Linked DNA regions of Homo sapiens: regions 1 and 2 are each linked to region 3. Evidence: promoter capture Hi-C in human tissues and cell types (Jung and others, 2019). All regions are on one chromosome and are shown on one strand. The core of a region is centred on a gene start or on the middle of the fragment in contact, and the rest is flanking DNA. Distances in the headings are between cores, read along the strand shown. Region 1 overlaps ZNF521 (zinc finger protein 521). Region 2 has its middle 290 kb from the start of ZNF521. Region 3 holds the start of ZNF521 (zinc finger protein 521).

Evidence for each region. Contacts are between HindIII fragments. The study calls those that stand out against the background at their distance.
Region 1: a contact is called between a fragment that was not itself captured here and the fragment with the promoter of ZNF521 in region 3, in 7 of the 25 tissues and cell types used here (H1 embryonic stem cells, IMR-90 fibroblasts, aorta and 4 more).
Region 2: a fragment that was not itself captured here is called in contact with the fragment with the promoter of ZNF521 in region 3 in 1 of the 25 tissues and cell types used here (mesendoderm cells).

The regions. Positions count from the first base shown.
Region 1 is chr18:25,060,328-25,064,874 of GRCh38, reverse strand. It overlaps ZNF521 (zinc finger protein 521), which reads left to right. Exons shown (of 8, transcript NM_015461.3): 8 at 2,134-2,951. The coding sequence ends at 2,163. Among named protein-coding and RNA genes, the nearest start is that of LINC01894, 75 kb to the right of the region's middle. The HindIII fragment of the contact is 5,713 bases long and covers 1-4,547 here.
Region 2 is chr18:25,643,154-25,647,409 of GRCh38, reverse strand. No RefSeq gene overlaps it. Among named protein-coding and RNA genes, the nearest start is that of ZNF521, 290 kb to the right of the region's middle. The HindIII fragment of the contact is 6,660 bases long and covers 1-4,256 here.
Region 3 is chr18:25,349,325-25,353,739 of GRCh38, reverse strand. It overlaps ZNF521 (zinc finger protein 521), which reads left to right and starts at 1,574. Exons shown (of 8, transcript NM_015461.3): 1 at 1,574-1,735; 2 at 2,793-2,833. The coding sequence starts at 2,794. RefSeq lists a silencer at 1,479-1,548. The HindIII fragment of the contact is 6,455 bases long and covers 576-4,415 here.

The DNA of each region.
Region 1 (4,547 bases), core at 1,441-3,940, 290 kb after region 3:
TTTAAATAAGGGAGAGTGAAATACTGGTCTGCATCATGATTTGTCATCCATCTTTTTCAAAAATGAGCTAAATTTGAAATGGAACAAGGAAGACCTAAGTCCTCTTCACAAGGCTCCCAGCCCCCCGCCAACTTCTGCACGCAGCCCCAATTGGTTCTCAGCTGAACCTCTGGTCATTCAGCCTGTATTCAGGGAGCAGGCAGTTTGCTAGTTGCTGTAAAGGATGAAGAGATAACAAACATCTCTAAGATGAATCCCTCTGCTTAAAATACTCCAATGGCTCCCTTAACCTACAAGACAGTCTCAGCTCTTTAGCAAGGTAGATAAGACAGCTCATATTCTTGCCCCAAACCAGCTCCATCTTCATGTCTCGTGAGTACTGTTGATTCAGAACACTCCAGAAGAATTCATCCAATCTAAACAAGTTGCAGGTCTGCAAACGTACCTTGCATATTCCTGTTTCATTGCCCTGACCCATGTGGGTCCCTTGGCCTAGAGTGCCCTCCCTGTACTCTCTGCTCATGTCTCCGGCTGTCAGTATGCTGGATCCACTTGGAACCATTCCCCAATGGCTAGGCAGGTTTAGGTGTATCCGTGACATTTCTGTGTTCTTTTCTAATAGACTGCTTGCCATCTTGCTTTACTTTTATGTACCCACATGACCTTCTTTAGACTGTGAGCACTTTGAAGGCATGAAGGCAAGGACCATGCCCTTCCTCTCCAGTAGCCCTTGCCTTGCCAGCCAGTCACTGAGATAGCCAAACCCTCTTTCCTGAGCACTGCAGCGCTCTGGCATGTGCCAGGTGCTGATGTGCGTTTTCAATAGATGCTTGTAGATGAATGAATAAATGAATGAACATCGGAATTATTGGCATGAGTGAGAGCCAGGCCTACAAATAATCATGAGACAAGACCTAAGATGCATCCTATGTAAGCAGTATAAAGTGCAGCAGGAAATCAGAGAAGGGAGAGATCAGTGTTAGATGGGGTGAGGATGGAAGTGGTGATATTTTGAGCTGGGCCCCAAGGTTGTAATACAAAGGGATTGGGGTCAGGGGATACAAGTGAGTAGTGAGAGAACATGGCTCCAGGAAAGCACAGAGGAGGAGAGTGGAGATCAGGCCATCTCCAGGCTTATGCTCCAGGCAAATATCCTGCAGATCTGTGACCATCATCCAGGCCTGGTTCCTGGCGAACCAGGTTATCTCTTCATCCTTTACAGCAACTAGCAAACTGCCTGCTCCCTGAATACAGGCTGAATGACCAGAGGTTCAGCTCAACTTTCCCACCCGGCGTCCACCCTCAGGGCCTGGCTGGTGGTCCTGAGTTGCCCAGCAATCCCAGTTACCCTCTCACAATTTGGAAAGAGAGTGTTCACTCAGAAAGGGGACATGCTAGCATAGATGAGCAGGGACCACCAATATACAGCACAGGCTGTGTCAGCTGAGAAAGAGCATCCGGGGACAAGGGGAGACCTGGCGGGCTACTGTAATCTGCCCCTGAGCCACGGTATGACCACAGCCCAAAGCCCACCCTCAGGAGGGGGGCTGCTCCCACTGTCCATCATCAGCCAGCTAACTCTTGCATTTCATACCCATATTCAGGGGCAGATAGAGCCCCTGTTGTCAAGATGTTACAGTCTCAGAGGGATTGGAACAGAGGCATATGTAACCAATGGAAATCACGCACAGATCCATAAAACTGTTAAAACAGTGCTACCTGCTCCTTGAACACTGGGTCGTATCTTAATAAGAAGAGATGATGGATGGCGGGAGGGTATTATAGAAAGGCATGGCAGAGGTGGAGAAAAGGCAAGGTGCCAGCCAGCCATCTCACATTAAGGAGGCTTCTGCCCTGGCCTCTCCTTCCAGGCCCTCATGGGTGACAGCAGGTTCAGAAGATCTCTGGGTCTGTTTCCCCCTGGGGAAGAAACATTAGATTTTTTTTAACATTAGAGGGCACCCATGAGCACTATTCATCAGAGGGCAGAAACTCATTGTTCTGTTCAAGTCATTATGAATTAATTACATGTATATATGCTTGGTCTGATGAAAATGAAATCACTGAAGTTTGTTTTCCCTCTCTTCTCTTTTTTTTTTTTTTTTTTTTTTTTTTTTTTTTTGTTATTTACAGAATCATACAATGACCCAACACAGCAGTTAGTGCAAGTACAGTCTCTCAAGGAGAATTGATTTTGTGGCACAAAAAGGGAACATGTTTTACTCTTTGCACGAAACTTTCATTGTTAATGTATATTATTCAGAAACATTGTATTGTACCATAAAACTTGTATTATCAAACTGTTGGATGTTCATGTGTTTGAACTTTTGCGCACCGGATAGACCCCTTGTATATAAAGTGTTGCACATGTATTATGTCGTCTGATACTAAAATGGTCTTATAAAGACAAGTGGACTTGGGCCCTATTCAGGCAAGATTAAAAAAAAAAAAAGACTATGACCAAAATGGCTTAAGATAAAGTATTTTTAAGGAAGAAAGATTAAAAACAACTGTTATACATGAGACTATGGTTGGACTTCCTTTTCTTTACACTTAAGCCTAGAATTTCTCTTTAGGTATATCAGCGCTTAAATCCAAGACTATTTTTTATTGCTGAAGATTCTTGCAAACCATGAAGAGATGTTCTCACAGAACAGAACCCCACAGCTGGATAAGGCCCGTATATATATATTTGTAAGCCTTGCAATGTGACAGGTAGCATCACTATATATGCAATAGTTGTTATGTAGACTGTCAAAGAATTTTTTTTTCCCTGGATACATTTGAAGCTTTGAGTGTTCAAGGTTTTCCTTAATGATTTCACGCAGCCAAATTCTTGAATCAGTTGAACTAACCTGTATGTTACTGTTATTAATGTTTACTCTGCAGTCTGAACCTGGAGATTACTGGAATTGTTTTCCAAGAGGAAATAAATTCAGTTTACCATTAGGTATGAGTGTATTTGTGTGTTTTCTTTCTCTAGTTACTACACCATTAAAAAAAATCTAATTGCCTGCACCCTTGGATATGAAATCTGCTCTTGAGCATATCACAGGCATTACCTCAATCATATTTAACCTTTTCACACTGGGCCAAATGCATCTGGAAGGATATTCATCACTCTTCATAGGGAAGGAATCAGACACAGTATCCTTCTACTCTGTTACATACTAACAGGTCACATTGTACTTGAGGATTCTGACATCACAGATGGATGTGATGGCTGTTTTCTGCATAATTTGCAGCCCAATTCATGTCATGCTGTGCAAATCTGAACTCAAAGTAGATGGCTGCAATTTGAGAGGCAGTTTGGCTTATGTGTACTTAAGAAGCAGCATTGTTCATTCAGAAGACAAAGCACAGAGCAAGGAGTCAGATGGTTGTTAGTTGTAGTTCTGGCACTGCCTCCCGATGGGAGTTCCTTTACCTCCCAGCCTTGGTTCCTCCAGCCCGGGAAGGTAACAGAACCTGGTCATCAGCCTTCACCCAGGCATGGGGCATCTCTGGAAGGTTGCCTCCACTACAGCCTGCCATCCAACGGTCAATAAGTAAGAGCTCTAATTTCAGAGCTTCTTTTTGTTTTTTGAAAGAAGAAAAGAATTGCTATGTGTAACGTGAACCCTGATATTCACGTTTAGTCAAAATTGGTAAGTAAAGACCTGGTATTCATGGGCAACCTTCATGCAAACTATGCTGAAAATATTTAAGCCACTGTGAGTCTTTTGACCTCTTCTAAGCTCTGAGATCTTTGAACCTTAAACAAACAAGAATCCTCACAGCACTTTTTTGGTGGGGAACTAAAAGCAGGGACCAGTTGCCTTTGTTGTGACCACGTGTCACCAGGAGAACCATTGATGAAACCAAGATTACCAGCACCACAGTTAATCCCCATCCCATGGCTCTCGAGCCTTAACCTGTTCCAGGATCACCTAGAGAGCTTGGTACATCCTGGGGTGCTGGGCCCAACTCCCAGAGCTGCTGATTCAGTCGGCCTGGGGTGGGGCTCAAAACTGCCTAAGGAGTTCCCAGGTGATGCTGGTATTGCTGGTATGGGGACCACACGTTGAGAACCACTACCCTACCATGTTTCCAAATTAGTTGAATACATTAAACATAAGCAATCAAGTGGAGTGGTGGCAAATTACCCTATTATGTTAGCAATATAAAAACAGTTTGGTCAAATTTTAAGATCATTCAGAAACAAGTATTTTATAGTGATTAAAGTATGTGTGCTCACCAGAATGTTGTGTGTGTGTGTGTGCGTGTGTGCAGATGGTTCCCAACTTACAATGGTTCAGCTTACAGTTTTGTTTTGGTTTTTTTTTTTTTTTTGAGATGGAGTCTCGCATTGTCACCCAGGTTGGAGTGCAGTGGCACGATCTCAGCTCACTGCAACCACCGCCTCCCGGCTTCAAGCGATTCTCCTGCCTCAGCCTCCCAAGTAGCTGGGATTACAGGCGCCCACCATGCCCAGCTAATTTTTTGTATTTTTAGTAGAGACGGGGTTTCACTATGTTGGCGAAGCTGGTTTCAAACTCGTGACCACG
Region 2 (4,256 bases), core at 618-3,117, 290 kb before region 3:
CTCCTGAATTTCAGATCAGTCCTTATTCAATGATGGGTAGATGTAGGCACATAAAATAGAGATCTTTTGCCCAAATTCTGAAGAGCCATGTGTTTCAGTGATCTATTGATGCATATTAAATCACCCAGAAACTTAGTGACTTAACAAGAATCATTTTATTATTTTGCAAGGTTTATGTGAGTCAGTAATTTGGAAAGAAATCAGCTAAGAAGTTGTGGCTTAGGGTTTCTCATGTGGTTTCTGCCAAATAATGGTTAGAGCTAAAGTAACAGAGAGCCAAATCAGCTGAAGGTTGGCTAGGCATCTCTCTCTTTATGTAATCTCAGGGCCTTGCCATGTGCTAGTCTGGTATTTCCATATGAGCTAGTTTGGTCTTTCTCATAGCATGGTGGTCTCAGGCCAGTCAGATTGCTTCTATGACAGCAGAATACTTCAAGAATAAGCAAACAACTCAGAGGCTCTATGGCCTTTAAAGCCACATAGCATTGCTTTTGTTATTTTCTGTTGGTTGAAATAATCAAGAAAACTTATCCTGTTCTAAGGAAAGTAGATATAGACCTTCCTTTTTTATAGGAGGAGTGTCACAGTCACATTGTAAGAACAGCATGTAGTATAGAAGATGTTATGGCAGGTGTTTTAGGAAAATAGAATCTGCCACACTATTCCAAATTGGAGCTCCCCTTAGATCCTTTGTTGAGACTGCATCACAGACCAACTTCTCCCTTGGCCCATACCTTCTTCCTTTTCTTCTTCCAAAGGTGTCTTAGTCTATTTTGTGTTGCTATAAAGGAATACCTGAGGCTGGATCATTTACAAAGAAAAGAGGTTTATTTAGCTCATGGTTCTGGAGGCTTTACAAGAAGCACGATGCTGGCATCTGCTCGACTTCTGGCACAAAAGCTGAGGCAAAACATGTTGAAGGTCAAAGGGGAAGTAGTCCTATCCAAACAGGAGCCAAACCTGAGGGGCGTCTTGGCTTTATAACAAACCACTCTAACAGAAACTAATCTATTCCCCAGAACCAATCCAATCTCATGAGAGCGAAAATTCACTCACAACTGCAAGAATGGCACTGAGCCATTCATAAGAGATGCACCCTCATGACCCAAACACCTCTCGCTAGGCCCCACCTCCCAACACCACCACACTGCAGGTTAAATTTCAACATGACATTTGGTGAGGACAAACAAAACACATCCAAACCATAGCAATAGGTGTTGATCCTGAAAGCACTTCTTAACAAACTTCCTTCATTATAATTTTCATTGCCCAGTCTCCCTTCCAGGAAACCTGACCTACAACAACTCGATAGCCATGTAGGTTTTCCCTGCTGTGAACTGCATAATAATTGTCCTCCACTTCATTTTCTACTGTGTTTTCTACCTTTTCTCATTAATTTCCGGGAGTTTGTAGGTAGTCTCTTAATAAATATCAATCCTGGTTCCATTTTAGAAGTTGCAAATATGTTCCCCAAAACCACGATCTGTCCATTAAGTTTGCCTATAATGCCCTTTATTTTATAGACAGCTAGACACGTTTTTTATTTAGGTATGTATTTTAGAAAGTTTCAAGCATGCCCTGAACATGTTATTCTATTGGCCTTATTTATTTTTAATTCTAGAGGATTTAAAAATTGTAAATTGATAAAACCCTTATAATTACGTAAATTTATGGAGAAATAAATGATGGCATAATTTAGGAATATAATGTGGAATAATTAAATCAAGCTAGTTAATATATCCATCGCCTCAAATATTCACCACAGTGTGTGATAAAACTCAAAAAAGAAAAAAACATTCCTTCTGTTTGAGATTTTTTGCCTTTTGACCATCCTCTCCCCATCCCTCCACTCCCTTGACTATCATTACCATTCTGCTCTTCGCTCCTAGGAATTCAATTGTTTTAGATTCCACATGTAAGTGTGAACATGCAATATTTGTTATTCTGAGCCTGACATTTCACTTAGCATAATGTTCTCCAATTCCATTCATGTTGTCACAGATGACAGAACTTCTTTCCTTTTGTAAGGCTGAATGATATTCCATTGTGTATAAATACCACATTTTAAAAATTCATTCATCCATTGTTGGAAACTTAGGTTGATTCCATATCTTGGCTACTGTATGAATAGTGCTGCAATAAACATGGGAGTTCAGACATCTCTTCAACAAACCGATTTCAAATCTTTTGGGTAAATATTCAAGAGTGGGATTGCTGGATCATATGGTAATTCTATTTTTGTTTTCTTTTTTAAATATCCCTATGCTGTTTTCCATAGCGGCTATATTAATTTACTGATTTTACTGTACTAATTTATAATCTCAACAGCAGTATCAAAGTATTTCCATTTTTATTTTACCTTTCTTATTTAGGTCTTTATTCCATCTGGCATCCACTTTTAATATGGTGTATATAGAAATTCAATACTGTTTTTCTCCATAGAGTTTCCCCTATATCATTTTCTAAGCAGTATGCCACTTTCCTATTTTTCTGAGATCTTTTATGTTCTCTTGAAGGTTTTTTAATTGCCATATTGTTTTTCTTACTAAAGCTTTTTGGATACATTGCTCTATGATAGAACATGATTCTTTTTCTTTGCTCCTCTTTTTCAAAATTGACTTGGCTATTTGTACACTTGTATTCTTCCACAACATTGCAGGATGAATTCATAGAATTCCTTTAAAACTAATTCTGCTTAGAATTTTTATTGGAATTGCATTGCATGTGGAGATTAGGGAGGACTGACATCTTTTACTGTTAAGTCATTTCATCAATGAATATGTATCTCTCTCCATTTATTCAGATGATTAGGATTTTTTCAATAGTAGTAGTATGGAGACTCCTTATCTAGTGGTGGATCCATATTCCCTGCTATTTATTTATCAAGGCAGACTTAGCAGACCTAAGCAGACCCGGAAACCTACATTATTCATCTGACACTTGTTCTAGAAATAATAAATACGACCCTACAGTTGTTTAAAATCTATTTTTTATTAAGAAAAGAATAACAATAAATGGACAAAGATTATAAAAAAAGAAATACCAATTTTGGGGGTTTTTTGTTTGTTTTTTGAGATGGGGTCTCACTCAGTCACCCAGGTTGGAGTGCAGTAGCGTGATCTTGGCTCACTGCAACCTCTGCCTCCCAGGCTCAAATGATCCTCTCACCTCAGCCTGCTGAGTAGCTGGGACCAAGTGCGGCTAATTTTTTTGTATTTTTGGTAGAGACAGGATTTCACCATGTTGCCCCAGGCTGGTCTCCTCCTGAGTTCAGGAGATTCACCCGCCTCAGCTTCCCCAAGTGCTGGAATTACAGGCATGAGCCACTGCACCTTGCCCCAGTGTTTTTAAGTTAGGAAAAGATGCTCAACTTCACCTATAATTAGGGAAATGCAAATTAGAAACATAATGATATGCTACTTTTTGCTCATGAAACTGACAAATTTCCAAAAGTTTGTATTAACAGAATGTTGGAAGCAAGTGCTCACATACATAGTTGGTAGGATTCCAAATACATGTGAACTCTTTGAAGGGAAATTTCTCAACATATTTCAAAATTAAGAATACAGGTAACATTTGAACTTGCAGTTTCACTGGTGGAAATTTATCCTTCAAGTGTACTTACACATCTGTGCAAAGTTGTATAAAGAAGGCTATTTTACAGCATTATTTATGCTAGCAAAAGGCTGGAATAATCTAAATGTGCATCAGAAGGGTATGGCTAAAAACTATTTGTATATCCATACAGCAGAATAACATGCAGCCTTTGAAAATAATTAGGTATAGCTTCTTTCTGTGATATGGAGTAATCTTGAGGATTGTAAAGTGGAAAAGGCACAATGCCAAATGTGTATAAAGTATACTCCAACTGTATAAAGCAAAAAGGATGTATTAATATATTTGTTTGCAGTTCCATACAATATCTCTGGAGTGATAATTAAGAAACAGATAATAGTGGTTGCCTCTGGGAAGGACAGCTGGGAACTGAGGGTTGAGGTGGGAGAAGACATTCTTTACTCTCTCTATCCCTTTGAACTCTTCAATTAATTTTTTTTAACAAGATTTACATATTATTTTAAAAAATAAATTTAAAACTATTTTAAAACTTAGTTTCATCCTCTCACATAAGTTGTAGAATATTATCCCATATTAGAGATGCTTTGGTGTATTTAGATTCGACCTAAATCTTTATCTTTTTAGCTTATTATATGTGCCTGTGTTCCTTCCTGCACACTCCATGGAATTATTAGGAGATA
Region 3 (4,415 bases), core at 325-2,824:
ACCACACGAAAGGAAAGTCTTGTAAAAACTTGGTGTTTACACATTTTTCCCTTTCTGAATGATTTCTGTGAAAATGAATGTATAAGGTTATGTATAAAATCTAGAATCCTTAATGTACCAACACAGATTCTGCAACAAAAGTTGCTTTATTTCACAGTCATGCAAAGTTAAATTTGACTACAACTATGATTTCACTTTAGGAATTACTGCAGATGGATTGAAAACTCATTTAATTATAATGAAGATATTGAAAAAAAACATACTGTATTTGCAGCTATCCACATGAGGGTCCAGGCAGTTTACAGGTTAGACTGGAAAAAATACAACTTCCTTAAAGCTTTGATGTCTTTGCATGGTGGCTTAATAGATAGCTGTACCTTAATTTTACAGAACGGAGAATTTTTAAAATCTGATTAAGAACAATAGTATTTGTACAAAATTCTGCCTGTTTTGTGTAATTAACCGTATTCTGAATCTCTTAATTTCCACCAAGACTTGTGAATCTAAGCTCTACTTGGTAGCCCTCTCAGGCATTTATAACTTGACAAGCGTGTCCAATCAATAAATAGCAACAACAATAATAATACTAAAACATCCTTTCCCTTAAGATAAGGTAAAAGAAGGAAACAGGTGATGGTTTCTTGTTTTGCGATGGGAGCAGGTGAAAAGTTAGAAAACAAAACTGCGAAAAGAAACAAAAATTCCCACCGACCTGCAGACATTTCAATTTATTTTAGAAACTATTTTCTTGTACACATATTCTTAAGTGCATATTTCCTTACCTCTTGCTTAAAGAAAAAATCAACAGAAAGCTTTATTTTCTGGACAAAGATCTATGTCAATTTGAGAATGTTAAAAAAGTGAACTCAAAGCTGTCTCTTTTGAATCACATTATGACATTCGTCAGCATCAATGACTTTCTCTAAACGAGAAAATAAAAAAAAAGTCCAAATAACTTGCCTTTATAAAGATTCCAAGTAAGAGAGACTTGGCAGGTCTGCGGTTGCCATAAAAAAGATTTCCCGAGTCCGGGCAACAACAGCAGACACACTTTTTTAAAGTCCGACAATGCAAAAGCCAAGCAATGAATTTCCCCCCTCCTTTCTTTTTCTTTTTCTTTTTCTTTTTTTTTTTTTTTTTTTTTGCCCCCTCAAGAACAAATTGTTGCCTCCTTTTACATCCATCCTACCAGAAGGGGGACCTTTCCACTTTCAGATGCTCCTCTGCTTTAATTTCTGAAGAGGAAAAAAAGCGAGCAGAAGAGCCCCGAGATCCGCCGTGGAGCTCTAATAACGCAGCTGCGGCGGCGGCGACGGCGGCGGCGCGGGGTGTGCGAGCGGCCGGGCGGGCGGCGCGAGGGGCGGCGGCGCAGGAGCGGGCGGGGCGCGCGGCGCGTGGGAGGCGGCGGCGGCGGCGGCGGCGGCGGGCGGGGCTCGGGGCGCTCGGCCGCCGCCTGGCTCCGGATCCGCGCGCCGCGGCCGGCGCCTCCAGTCCGGGTCTTGGCGGGCCCCCTCCTCCCTCCCGCTCCCCGCGCTCTCGCCTTTTAATCATGCCCCTCTGTCTGTGTGTGAGTGCAGGCAGGCTGACAATGATTTCCTCAGTGATTACGTACAGAGCGAGTCCCTGCGGGTTAGGGGCCCCCTCTGGAGCCATCCTGATGGCTTTGGGGGCCTTGCTTCCATTTTCCATTATTATGTGGACTACCGGAGCGACAGCGCAGTCCAAGACCTTGCAGGTTTGTGATGAGGAGGGAGCACACAGCACACTCCTTCTCCTCCTCCTGCTCCCGGCTCTCCTCCTCCTCCTCCTCCTGCTCTCGCCGCCGCTGCCGCCGCCGCTGCCGCCGCTGCTGCCGCCGCCGCTGCCGAGGCAGCCGTAGACTTTAGAGCCCCGGTCCAGCGCCAGCCGCCGGCGCCGCGCCCCCGCCCAGAGAGGGGCGCCCCGAGCCCGGGCCCCGCACACCCCCTGCACACAAGCAGCCCCGCACACCACCTGGGGGCCGTCGGCTCGGGTGCTTTGGCTTTTTCTTTTTGAAAGAAATTACTTTAGTGTGGGTTAAGAAAAAAAGGGTGGGGGGAAGGGAGAAAAAAAGTATTTTTTTCCCTTTGCTTATTTTCGTGGCCCGTTCGCATCTGCCTCGGATGGTGGGAGATTTTTCTTTCCAAGACCTTTTCATCGCCTTGCAGGGTCGATTTCCCCCCCTCGTCCCCCCAACTACAAAAGAGCACGACTCGCTTTGTAAACAAATCAGTGTTATTTGTTTTTTTCCGGTGGGGGGGGGGGCGGATTTGTTGAAAAGGAAAAGCGGTAAAGAAAAAAAAAATCACCCAGACGCTTTTCTTTTTATTAGTTTTTTTCTATTCGCATGAACTATGTGAATTTTGATTGAGGTGGAAATAGTAACGGATTTTCTCTTTTTAGTGTAGCTGACGGCTCTTCAAACATTGTCTTTGGGGTTTTTTTTTTAGCTTTTTTTCCCTCCTTTCCTTTTTTCTTTTTCCTTTTTTTTTTTTTTTCTTGGAGATTGGGGGTGGGGGTCGAAGGCTGGGAAAGTTTGGTGCAGCAGCCGCCGCCGCCGCCGCCGCCGTCGTGCAGAGCGCGGAGCTCGGGCAGCCGCGAGCCCCGCGCGCGAGCGCGAGCCGGAGCCGGAGCGAGGAGCGGAGCGCGGAGCGAGGGCGCGAGGGAGGCCGAGCGGAGGGCGCGAGGCGCCGCGGCCCGAGGGGCGCGCGGCCACGAGGAAGTATAGTTTCTTTCAGGGCTGAATTGAAACAACTTCAGCTGTTTGCTTTTAGGATGTCTCGCCGCAAGCAAGCGAAACCGAGATCCCTCAAAGGTAAGGAGGAACCCCCTGCTCCCCGCTTTCCCCCATCCGCGAGTGTCACTGTGGGTAGCGGAGCGAGGGCTGCGTGGCTGCGAGGCGTGTGCGCGCGTGAGTGTGAGTGTGAGTGCGGGGGCGCGCGCGCTCCCCTCCCCGCTGAGCCCCTAGGTGGAGTGAGGGTGAGGTGTCGGGGTGGGGGGAGACGAAGACGGGAGGAGGATCCCCGAATGGGGCGGCGGTAGAAAGTGGGCGAGAAAAGACAACAACAACCGAAAAAAAAAAAGAGAGAGAGAGAGAAAGAAACGAAATTATCCGGAGAGGGAGGAAAAAAAAATATCCCGTCTGAGATCTACATCTGGGCTGGAGGAAAAAGTTTCTGTTGTGTGTTTTCGCAAAGAATAAATATGCAAAACCGTGCGGTGCTTCTTTTTTCCTTTTCTTTGGAAGAAGAAAAAAGTCATCTCGGAGGTGGGGAGCAGCCCCCGCTCGTGACAAACGTGGCCCGGGGTCCCGGCCGCCGCCTCCCGCCCGCCCGCGTCCTGCTTGGGTCCTCTCCGCACGTCGCCGGAGTAAACAGACCCCGGCCGCCGGCCGCGGGCACCGGACCCCGGCTCGGGCCTCAGAGCACCCCTCTTGGCCATTCCCAGAAGTTGACCGCCCCTCGCCCCTACTTCTCCCCGCCGCCCCTGGAGTCCTTTGCGTTTCGCGGTGGGGTCCAGCTCTCCGTCGTCCCTGTTGGAGAGGGAAGTTGCGGGGCGTGCGTGCGGGATTTTGGGGGCGCACTAGCTGGCTGCGGCGGGGGCGGGGGTCCCTGAAGTTATCGATCTGATGGCTGTGTTGGAATGTGGCGAGGAGAGTCACGTGGCGGCCTCCTCCTCCTCCTCGGCCGCCTCCTCCACCTTCGCGAGCCTCCTTCCGAGGAAATCGGGGGCGGGCGGCCGAGGGGAGCCGCGAGGTCCGGCGCTCCGAGGCGGAGAGCGGGGAGGGCGGGCGGCGGAGCGCGAGGGCCGGAGGAGGGGCGCGCGGGCAGGACGGGGAACCGGGGCGAGGGCCAGGGGGCCAGCGCTGGAGGCGGCCGCGGCCCCCGCGACCCGGAGGCGGAGGACAAAGGGCGGCTGGTGCGCCCGCCCGGGCCCGCTGGGTCCCGCCGAGGTCCGCGCGGCCCGGCCCCGCCCTCTGGTCCCCGGCGGCGCAGCATCCTCTTCCTCCTGGCTGCCGGGCCGCGGCGCCCCGTGGCCCCGGTTCCCGCACCAGCTTCCCGACTCGCCGCCGGCCCGGGGAAAAGGGGTGGGCAGGGCCCGGCGCCCCACGCCTCCCGGCCCCCGGCCGCTGTGCATTTTTGAACTCGATGAACGGAGCCCTCACCGCACACACAAAGCCCTTTCTTTCTTCTCCTGGGAAGGGACGGGGTGGGGGAGGGCCTCGCAGATTGGAACGCTTGCTTTTTTCCTAAAGCGCAGAAGTTTTAGTTCGGGAACGAGGTGAATCATTGGCATGTGTCTCCACACAGTGTGTCTGGTGGTTTCCGTCACATGGGCCCCTCATTTTTCTGGGGGAAACCTAGACCCAGGGCCTGAAAGATCCAAGTGTCGACAGT